2 separate regions of the Homo sapiens genome follow, and region 2 is linked to region 1. The links are contacts of gene promoters, found by promoter capture Hi-C in blood cells and fetal thymus (Javierre and others, 2016). All regions are on one chromosome and are shown on one strand. Each heading gives the region's core, a stretch centred on a gene start or on the middle of the fragment in contact. The rest is flanking DNA. Distances are from core to core; before and after follow the strand shown.

Evidence for each region. The method cuts DNA at HindIII sites, captures the fragments that hold promoters and counts their contacts. A CHiCAGO score of 5 or more calls a contact.
Region 2: a contact is called between a fragment that was not itself captured here and the fragment with the promoter of TRAM1 in region 1, in 1 of 17 cell types (M2 macrophages). The highest score is 6.5, in M2 macrophages.

Annotation. Positions count from the first base shown.
Region 1 is chr8:70,606,389-70,611,214 of GRCh38, forward strand. It overlaps TRAM1 (translocation associated membrane protein 1), which reads right to left and starts at 2,028. Exons shown (of 11, transcript NM_014294.6): 1 at 1,689-2,028. The coding sequence starts at 1,811. LACTB2-AS1 (LACTB2 antisense RNA 1) reads left to right here and starts at 2,189. Exons shown (of 4, transcript NR_038881.1): 1 at 2,189-2,445. RefSeq lists silencers at 1,075-1,524, 1,545-1,724, 1,775-1,834, 1,895-1,944, 2,025-2,194. The HindIII fragment of the contact is 3,860 bases long and covers 267-4,126 here.
Region 2 is chr8:71,826,418-71,831,164 of GRCh38, forward strand. No RefSeq gene overlaps it. Among named protein-coding and RNA genes, the nearest start is that of MSC-AS1, 14 kb to the right of the region's middle. RefSeq lists enhancers at 890-949, 4,124-4,747. The HindIII fragment of the contact is 1,641 bases long and covers 2,592-4,232 here.

The sequences.
Region 1 (4,826 bases), core at 778-3,277:
TCTCCCTATGTTGCCTAGGCTGGTCTCGAACTCCTGGGCTCCAGTGATTCTCCTGCCTTGGCCTCCCAAAGTGTTGGGATGTTTACAGGCATAAGCCAGAGCACCAGGCCTAGCACTGTATTTACCTTCACACCATATCATCTGATACTTGCAAAAAATGGCTGTGAGGAGAACAGTACAGGTGATATTATTTCCTGATAAAGAGCAGAAAAATTGAGGCTCAGACTTGGGTCACCCAGTAGGTAGGTGGCACAGCCCAGACTTAAAGCTTGAGAATGTTAGTTTCCTTCTACCTACCCTTTAACTATACCTGCTACCTCCTTAGCAGTGGTTTCAAACATGCATGACACAATCAGGAGTAAATAATATCTGTATCTAGATCCAGAAAAGCCCATTTGATGAGAGGCGAAAATAAGGTTAAAATATTATTTAATTTTAAAATTAAAAAAAAAAACAAATATGCTCCATTAAAAAGAAAATGTATTCACCTTTTGGTCACTGGTAATATCATTCCATTAGGTTTTCTCAAGGATTCTTAACGTCGCTCATCTTTTTTTAAGCACTCCTATGTCCCAGGCACTATCCTAGACTCTGGAAATACAGACTCGTAAAAATACTCCAAAATCTCTACTCTCACTTGTTACATGCAGGAGAGAGGAGACAAAACAAGGCAGGAGCAAAATAATTTGTATATTTACTGAGACATAAAGGCTCCAGAGAAAAATTAAAAAGGGAAAAAAGCAAAGGAATGAGCGTGTGTATTGGGGAGCGAGGGGAAAAACGTAGGATGTTACTCGTTCACCTTGCAAAGTTTATCATCCACATTCAACAGCTGTTAAATAAGTCATCAAAATACTAGATACGTGGGAAGAGAATTTACACACTCCTGACATTCCCATCCTCTCCTACTTCAAGAAACAAAATTACTCGATTCCTTGGCACCGCTGTTCAGAACCTCGATTTATCCATCAGACCTTGTTTCTTTAAAGCGTCAGGGCAAAAAGTTCGTTAACTGGTAATAATATCAGTTTAAAAGACAAAAATGAAAACAATCTGGCGCGCCTCCACTGCGCCGGTGCCCGGCGGCCACCGCCCTTCAAGTCGAAAGCAGATGCCTGACTCCGGTTTCTCGCTCACCCCAATCTCGGAGCTACCGGGGGCTCCCCTGTCACTCGGGGCCTGTGGTCTCCAGGCCGGCACTCCTCAGACCCGGGGGCCGGGCCTCGGCCTTCCCCGGCCCTCGCGGGGCTGACGCTCACCGCGGCCGAGGCTGGCAGTCCCCCCAAGTCCGCCCACCCGCCCCGAGCCAGCTCGGCAGCGCAGGGGCCGCCCCCGCCCGCAGGCCCCTCGCCGGCTGCCACGTAACCCTTCGCGGGAACCAGGAACTGCGCCGCGCAGCCTGCGGGAGGGGGCGGCGGCGGGTCAGGAAGGGGGCGACGCGGCGGTCCCCACCCCCTGCGGGCCGCGATGAGGCCCACCGGGACTTTGCATCTCCGGGCCGGCCGCCGGGGAGCTGCCGCCGACGTGGGGCAGGGCAGGGAAGGCCTGCACCTCAGGGACTGGGGGTCTGCACCCACCCCGGGCCCGAGCCCCCCGCGTCCTGGGCGGAGAAGCCGGGGCTGGCATCTGGAGCCCGGGCCCGGGCTGGAGGTGGCGGGGCAGGCGGTTGGGACTCGGGGCGGGCTCACCTCAAACATGAGCCCCAGCAGGAAGACCATCGCCACACAGGAGACGATGTCCGCGTGATTCTGCAGGACGAATTCGTGGCTCAGCACTGGGGGGCTCTTGGTGCTTTTCTTGCGAATCGCCATGGTGGGGCCGCCGCCCGCGCCTGCAGGTGCTCCGCCCCGGTTCTGCTCTTCCCAGCTGCTCACCGACTCGCCGCCGCCTCCCGCTGGCTGCTCCTCACGGCCCCGCTGCAGCCGCTCGCTGGGGCTTCACTTCCCATCCCACAGCCAGTACGCAGCCGCCGGGCCGCCCGGGGGAAAAAAAAAAACACAACAGCTAGCCCGCAGCGGGGGCGAGCATGCGCACCAGGGAGACGACGCTCCCTGGTGCCGCGGCCGCCTCCGCGAGCCCACAGCGCCACCTGGGGACCGGAGGCCGCTGGCCCGCGGCCGGGCGAGCGTGCAGGAATGTGAGCGGCGCTTCCCTGCTTCGCGCCGGGCCCGGGTTTGGGAGTCGTTTGAGGCGCGAGCTTCCTGCGCCTGCTCAGCAGCCTGAGGCCGCGGCCGGGTGCCCTCCTGCCCTCCTGGCCATCCAGGGATTGGGTGTCAGTGGCCTGTTGCACATTGTCACTTCTACAAGTGACTAACACCGTCAGGATAATCTAAAACTACGAATACTACCTGACTCCACAAGGGTACGGTGTATTCTCCAGTTTTAGCATCTGCCTTAAAAATTACCTCAGAGTTAAGCACTGCTGGGGACTTATTTCTACTCTTGGTAAGTTTGGACTAACTTAAAAAAAAAAAAAGAGCTGACCCTATTCTGGTCTGCCTCTCCGTCCCCACCCCCATCCCCGTCCCCATCCCCACCCCTATCCCCCACTGGCCTCAGACTGAAGACGAAGGGATCAGTTTGGGTTTACTGGCTTCACATATATTCAAATTAACAACATGTTTTAGTAATCTAAGGGAAATAGTAAAAGAGTTAAAAAGGATCGTGGATTAAGACACGTCCTCCTCTTATCGTTTTGCCCAAACCTGGAGTCCTTTGTATTCTTTTTCCTGAAGAATTGCTCTCCTGTTTACCCATAAGCCAAATGTAGAAACCAAAGTCATGCTAGATTGAGCCCTTTCAGCGCCCTTCCACATCCAGTCATCACCAATTCGAGGCAGACCTATCACCCCGCTTCCCCACTACCGCAGTCCGAGGGTACTTGCCTCTTGCCTACAATATTACAACTCTGGTGTAACCACTTAGTGGTTTAAGAATGTGGGTTGTTAAATCAGAATTCTGCCACTTATTACTTGTACGATCAAGGACAAGTTACTTAATCTCTATGGGACCCGATTTCCTCATTTTTAAAAATGTATTCATTTATGTACTTACTGAGGGTTGACTGTGTCCTGGGCACTGGGGATACAGAACTGAAATACAAATTAAATTATTCCTAGGGACTTATCATTCTAGTGTGGGAGAGAATCTTTAAACAAGATTTCAAAAGCGAAACAGATGTTAAATTGAGTTGAGCAACCAGGAGAAAAATAAAGCAAGGGGAATAGGAAAGTGCGAGGCACTTATACTTGCCTGAAGACCTGCAGGAGGTGAGGGAGCAAGCCCTGTGGATATCATCTATAAAGTGGGGATAACTATTGCTCATTTTAGTGATTAAATGAGATGATTGAAGGAAACTGCTTAGCGGGGAGTAAGGGCTTTATAAATTTAGTCAGGGATTATTCTTTTCCTCCTTCTGGGCAATCACTAGTTTCATTTCCCTTCAGATCACCTTTCAACGTTTATACTAGAATGATGCTTCTACTGGCAGAAAGTTTTTCAGCGGGTTCCCTTTCCCTTCATGGAAAGCTAGCATGATGAAATAGCCCTTTCTGATTTGGTCCTTGCCTACCCCAACAGACTGGAGCCCTGCATCTACAGGCCATAATCTCTGTACCAGCATTATTGACTACACACACTATACAGTTGCCTCTCCATATCTGTGGGTGCCGCATACACTGTGGATTCAACCAACCTGGAGTAAAAGATATTCAAGAAAAAAACTGCATTTGTACTGAACATCTACAGACTACCCCCCCATGATTATTCCCTAAATAATATAGTACAGCCAACTATTTATTTAGCAGTTATGTTGTGTTATTATAAGTAATCTAGAAATGATTGGAGGTCTGTGGGAGGATTTAGGATATTCTTTACCAGAATATTGCATCATCTTATATAAGGCACCTGAGCATGGGTGGATTTCGGTATCCGCGGGGGCCCTGGAACCAGTCCCCTGTGAAGACTGAGGGACGACTGTACATGCCATGACATGCTCTCTTCCCATGCTCTCCCCTGCCTTTGCGTGTACTGCTGTCTCTGTCTGGAATGTTTTCTCCTGTCCTTTCATAGACACAGCAGGCTCCTGCTGTTCCTTCATGTCTCATTTACACATGACCTCTTCGAAAGCTTCACTGAATTCTGTGACCTAAGCAATTTATCTTTTATGATTCAATTGCATTTTTGAAATAGTTTTATTGCAGTATAATTTATGTCATATAGTTCAGCTATTTGAGATATTCAATTCTGTGGTTTTTAGTATGTTTGCAAAGTTGTGCAACAATCACCATAATATAACTTTAGAACATTCTTGTAATCTCTAAAAGAAACCTTATACACATTACCAGTAACTCTCCATTTCCCCTCATAGTCTTGGCAGCCCTTGGCAACAACTGACCTATTTTCTACCTCTCTATATTTGCTTATTGTGGACATTTCTTTTTGTTCTTTCTTTGTTTCTTTTCTTTCTTTTTTTGAGATGGGGTCTTGCTCTGTTGCCTAGGCTGGTGTACAGTGGCATGATCATAGCTCACTGCAACCTTGGACTCCTGGCCTCAAGAAATTCTCCCACCTCCCAAAGTGCTGGGATTACAGGTGTGAACCACCATGGCCAGCTTGGACATTACATGTAAATAGAATCATGATCTTTTGTGACTGACTTCTTTCACTGAAGATAATGTTTCCAAGGTTCATCGATGTTGTAACATGTATCAGTACTTCACTCCTTTTTATGGCCAAATAATATTCCATTGTATGGCTATAGCACATCTTATTCATCAGTTGATGAACATTTGTGTACAAGTTTTTGTTTGAACTCAATTCCTTTG
Region 2 (4,747 bases), core at 2,162-4,661, 1.2 Mb after region 1:
TTGTGTTTCCATCAATAATAGCATAATTTGGCTTGAGTGAAGAGTGAAGGTGGAGAAGGTGAGCAGAGCACGATACTGTTTTGCCTATTCTCATCTTAAAACACAGATTTGAATCATTACACGTGTGAAATGCAGGCTTTCCATGGGAAGAAGTAGAATGGTTCTTGTATTTCTGGAAAGACACAGCAAGTGAATCTGCTACTTTATAGCTTTTTTTTTTTTTTTTTTTTTTGAGACCGAGTCTCACCCTATCGTCCAGGCTGGAGAACAATGGGGCGATCTTGGCTCACTGCAAGCCCCTCCACCCAGGTTCAAACGATTCTCCTGCCTCAGCCTCTCGAGTGGCTGGGATTCAGGCACCCACCACCAGGCTCCACTCATTTTTGTATTTTTAGTAGAAATGTGGTTTCACCATATTGGCCAGGCTGGCCTCGAACTCCTGACCTCGTGATCCACCTGCCTCGGCCTCCCAAAGTGCTGGGATTACAAGCGTGAGCCACTGTGCCTGGCCTATATCTATCCTTAAACAAAGACAAGGCCTGGGTTTAACACTTGCATGAAATGGAGAGAATTATAATAATCTTCCTTATTTATCTCGCAGAGGACTTGTGAAGCTCAGATGAGATGCTCATCTCAAGCTCTTCGTTGAAGTAACCACCACTTCCAAAATCCCCTCAGAACTATAACACTGCCTGCAAATATAACGGATCCACAAGGCAACAGAGAGCTACACCTTTGGATCTCACAAATACAGTAGTGGGGAACCACCCAGAGCTGTCTTCTGGAAGAGCTGTGATGACAGTAGCGCTGTTGCAGTTACTACAAGGGACCTGAGAAGCCACAGATGGCCCACAGGCAGAAGTGGTGGCCGTGCAGGGGATGCCCCTGACACAGTGACACATGTGCAGAAATCCAGCTTATCGGCCCTCTTGGATTCCCTCTTGCACAGTATTTGCTCTAGAAAGACTCCTGCCACCAGCTGCTTTCTTGAAGGTTGTAGGGGAAAAGGTTCCCTGGACCCCCCCTACACACCATCACCATTGGTACAGGGGGATTGCTGACACCTCCCCAAGGATGTCCTGAAGCTGTGACCAGGTTCCATAGGGAGTCTGCACTCATGGCTTTCCTTCAGGCTGTTTCCTAAGGAATCTGGAATAAGTCAGAGCATTTTGATGTTAAGGAACATGAGGTCTTTGAGAAGGCGTACAACCCCGATCCTTGTATTCATGACCAGTGACCTAAACCACTCTGGCTTGAGGAAAGGACAGAAAGTAACCTCAGGGTTCATCTCTGCTCCCTAGTCGGGTGCCGTGCCTCACGCCTGCAATCCCAGCACTTTGGGAGGCCGAGGAAGGCAAATCACTTGAGTCCAGGAGTTTGAGACCAGCCTGAGCAATATAGTGAGAAGCTTGTCTCTACAAAAAATAAAAATAAACAACTAGCGTGGTGGCTCATGCCTGTTGTCCCAGCTACTCAGGAGGCTGAGGTGGGAGGATCGCTGGAGCCCAGGAAGTCAAGGATGCAGTGAGCCATAATAGTGCCACTGTACTCCAGCCTGGGCAACATAGGCTTAACCCTGTCTTAACAAAAAAAAAAAAAAAAAAAAAAAAAAAAAAAAAAAAAAAATCTGCAGCCTGAGGGTTTGCTGCAACTTATATATTTACCACGAGATGGCGCGCTAATGACGTCTTTTTATTACTGGGACCGGCTGCGTGGCGCTCAATTATTTTTCCTATTGAATCCTGTGGAAAGTGCTGGAGCTGCAGAGAGGTCCCCAAACAGCAGAAACAATGAGCGTGTAAGTACTTAATATAGTGGGGAAATACCCATTGACATATATTTACCGCCCTTGAATTTGGGTTTCAAAGGACTCATTTTTTTGAACTTGGTTACATCATGAAATTCACCTAACATAAAAATTAGCTCTTAAACACAGCTGATGTCAATGGGTAACTTTTCCCGGGGAAGCAGATGCTGCCCGGGTTGTGTGCAGAGCGCCATCCTGGAGGAGCCGGGCTGCAGGGAGCTCCTTGAGGAGCCACATCCAGACCTCTAGCACTGAGTTATCTTTGCCTCCGCTTACCTTCTTGTATCTGCAACAAACCTTTTTAACGTATTCACTCTTGCTTTTCTCAGTTTTTGATAATCAGCCACCTTGCTGTAGTAAAGGATCACACTGTGGAATGCTAAAAAAAAATTGCCATTTTAAAGTAGACAATTTACTGGCATTTAGCATATTCCCAATGTCACGAAATCACCATTTCTATAAGTTTCAAAATATTGTCACCATTCCAAACTAAAACCCCTTAGCTATTAAACAGTTTCTATGTTCCCTCCTTGAACTGGCAACAACTAATCTGTTTTTGTCCCAAAGGATTGATCTATTCTGAATATTTTATATAAATGGAATCATACAATGTGTGACCTTGTGTGTCTACCTGCTTTCACTTAGCATAATATTTTCAAGGTTCATCCATGTTGTAGCACGTGTCAGTGTTTCCTTCCTTTTTATGGTGAGAACTTCCAGTGCAGTGTTGAATAGTCATGGTGAAAACAGGCATCCTTGTCTTGTTCCTGACCTTATGGGGGAAAGCTTTCAGTCTTTCATATTGGGTTTGATGTTAGCATAAAGGCGTCTTATGGTGCTGGGGAAGTTGCCTTCTCCTGGTTTTCTGTTTTGTTTTGTTTTGTTTTTTATCGTGAAAGAGTGTGGGATTTTGTTAAATGCTTTTCTATGTCGATGAAGATGATTGTGTGAGTTTTCCCCTTCATTCTATAATGTGTATTACATTGACTGATTTTCTTATGCCACACCATTCTTGCATTTTGGGGCATATAGTACTTTTAATAACTTTTCTTTAAAAATGAAGATGTGTGTAAAGTATTGCACAAATATAGATGAGGTAGAATTAATTCTGCAGGTTAAGGCAGAGGGAGTGGGAAGGGTTTAGGGGAGGAAGACAAAGAGAAGTCAGCCAGTAAAAGACAGACCAGAAATGACCTTAAATGACAAGGGGATTTTTTTTTAAAAAGCCAAACTTTCAAGCAGCATCTTTCTCTAATCCAAGACAGATGAGAAGCCAGTTTCCAAAAATCCAGTTTCATTTTCCTTATCTTTAAAATGATTAGATTATTTTGATTTTTATTGTCATTGCTATAATTATAGTTTCTTATCCTGTTTATTTCATAAAATTTTCCTAGGTATTGCATAATTTGGGGCCATAATTTTACATTGTTGCACAACAGTCCCGGTTAGGTAATTACAGTAACCATATAGTCTTTGTTTTTTATTATCTTTAGAATGCCATGATAAACCAAAGTAGATTACTTATGAGATACCTTCTAGCTCTAAAGTTTTGTGGCTTTATGATTCTACGAAATCTGTACCACAGATTCTTCCCTAACTGCGCAAATTCTACATCACAAATCCTAGACGGTTAGAAAACCTCTCTCTGGCAATTTCATTAAATCTACTGTACTTCTTATATGTTTCAATTCACACATGTTTTCTCTTTTTCTGTCTTTGGTGAAGATGGAAAAAAGTGGATCACTTGTTGTTGGTGGGAAATTGTTTGTTCCTATAACTCACTTAAGCAAGTATCTATTAAGGTCAAACAAAAATGATCAGCTCTTCTAGGCAGACTGGGGCTTCTCCTCGGTCATGGCATTTCTTGGCTCCCCTACCTCAGTTTCTCCCAGGAGCAGTTCTTTGTTCATCTTCAGATTGGCCACTCCCTGCCTCCACTGCTGGGCTCTCCAGGAGTATGTAATTTTGTGAGCTAAAAATCCTAAGTGAGAATAGATCTATTTTCTTTTTAGTTCAGCACATATAAATTGGGTGTTTTTCAAATCATCTTCATTATAAAATAAAGAGGAAAGCAAACCCAAAAAGAAACAAATATGTTTATAGACAAGTGCCACTCCCTGGGTTGCATTGGTGGGCACCGCCAAGGAAGCAGACAGCCTTGACTCCTTTCTGCGCTTTCGTCCCGTGTCAAGCCCTCGGAAGGAGGTATAGCTCTATGGCTCATCCGTTGTTCCGAGTTAACTCCTAAAGTTCAGTTAGTCTCATCGGTGGGCACCATCTTCCCACCAGCTTCCTTTCACCCCAGCAGACAACTTTTGGGGAGGCTCAGGGAATGGTTTTGGGTTCAGATTCTTAGCTAGAGAGAAATAGATTTAAACTCTGATTCCACCAGTTATTCCCTGTGTGGCCCTTGGAAGGTTATTGAAGCTTTGAGAGCCTGTTTTCCCACCCATAAATCAAGACTATCACAGGCCTATTCATGGGCCTGATCAGAGGCATTAAAGGGCTGATATCTGTAAAGCGTATAGCATGGTGCTTAGCGTGTTTACAGTATGAATTTGCCTCTTCCAATTTTAAAGCTTTACATTTTAAAGTACTTTACTGAACTCAGTCAATACTCTTCTTTTTCTGTCTGAGGGCTCCCTAGCACCATCAGATTATGTACAGCAGAAATAGTAGTGTCAAATGGTAGTGACTAATTAGACATACTTTCTTAGTTGTCTGTGATGACTACATATCTCGGGTGGTTCCAGGGTATGGACTTTCCCAAATCAAATCACCCTCGTTTTACAAGTGAGAAGGAATTTAAACTAAAGAGTAGCAATAACTATTTTCTATCAAGAGAAATTTATTAAATATTTATTGATCATCTGCTTTGTACCAGACAGATGGAGGTTGTAATTTCATAAGACACAAAATGAAAAATGATGATTCCTGCTC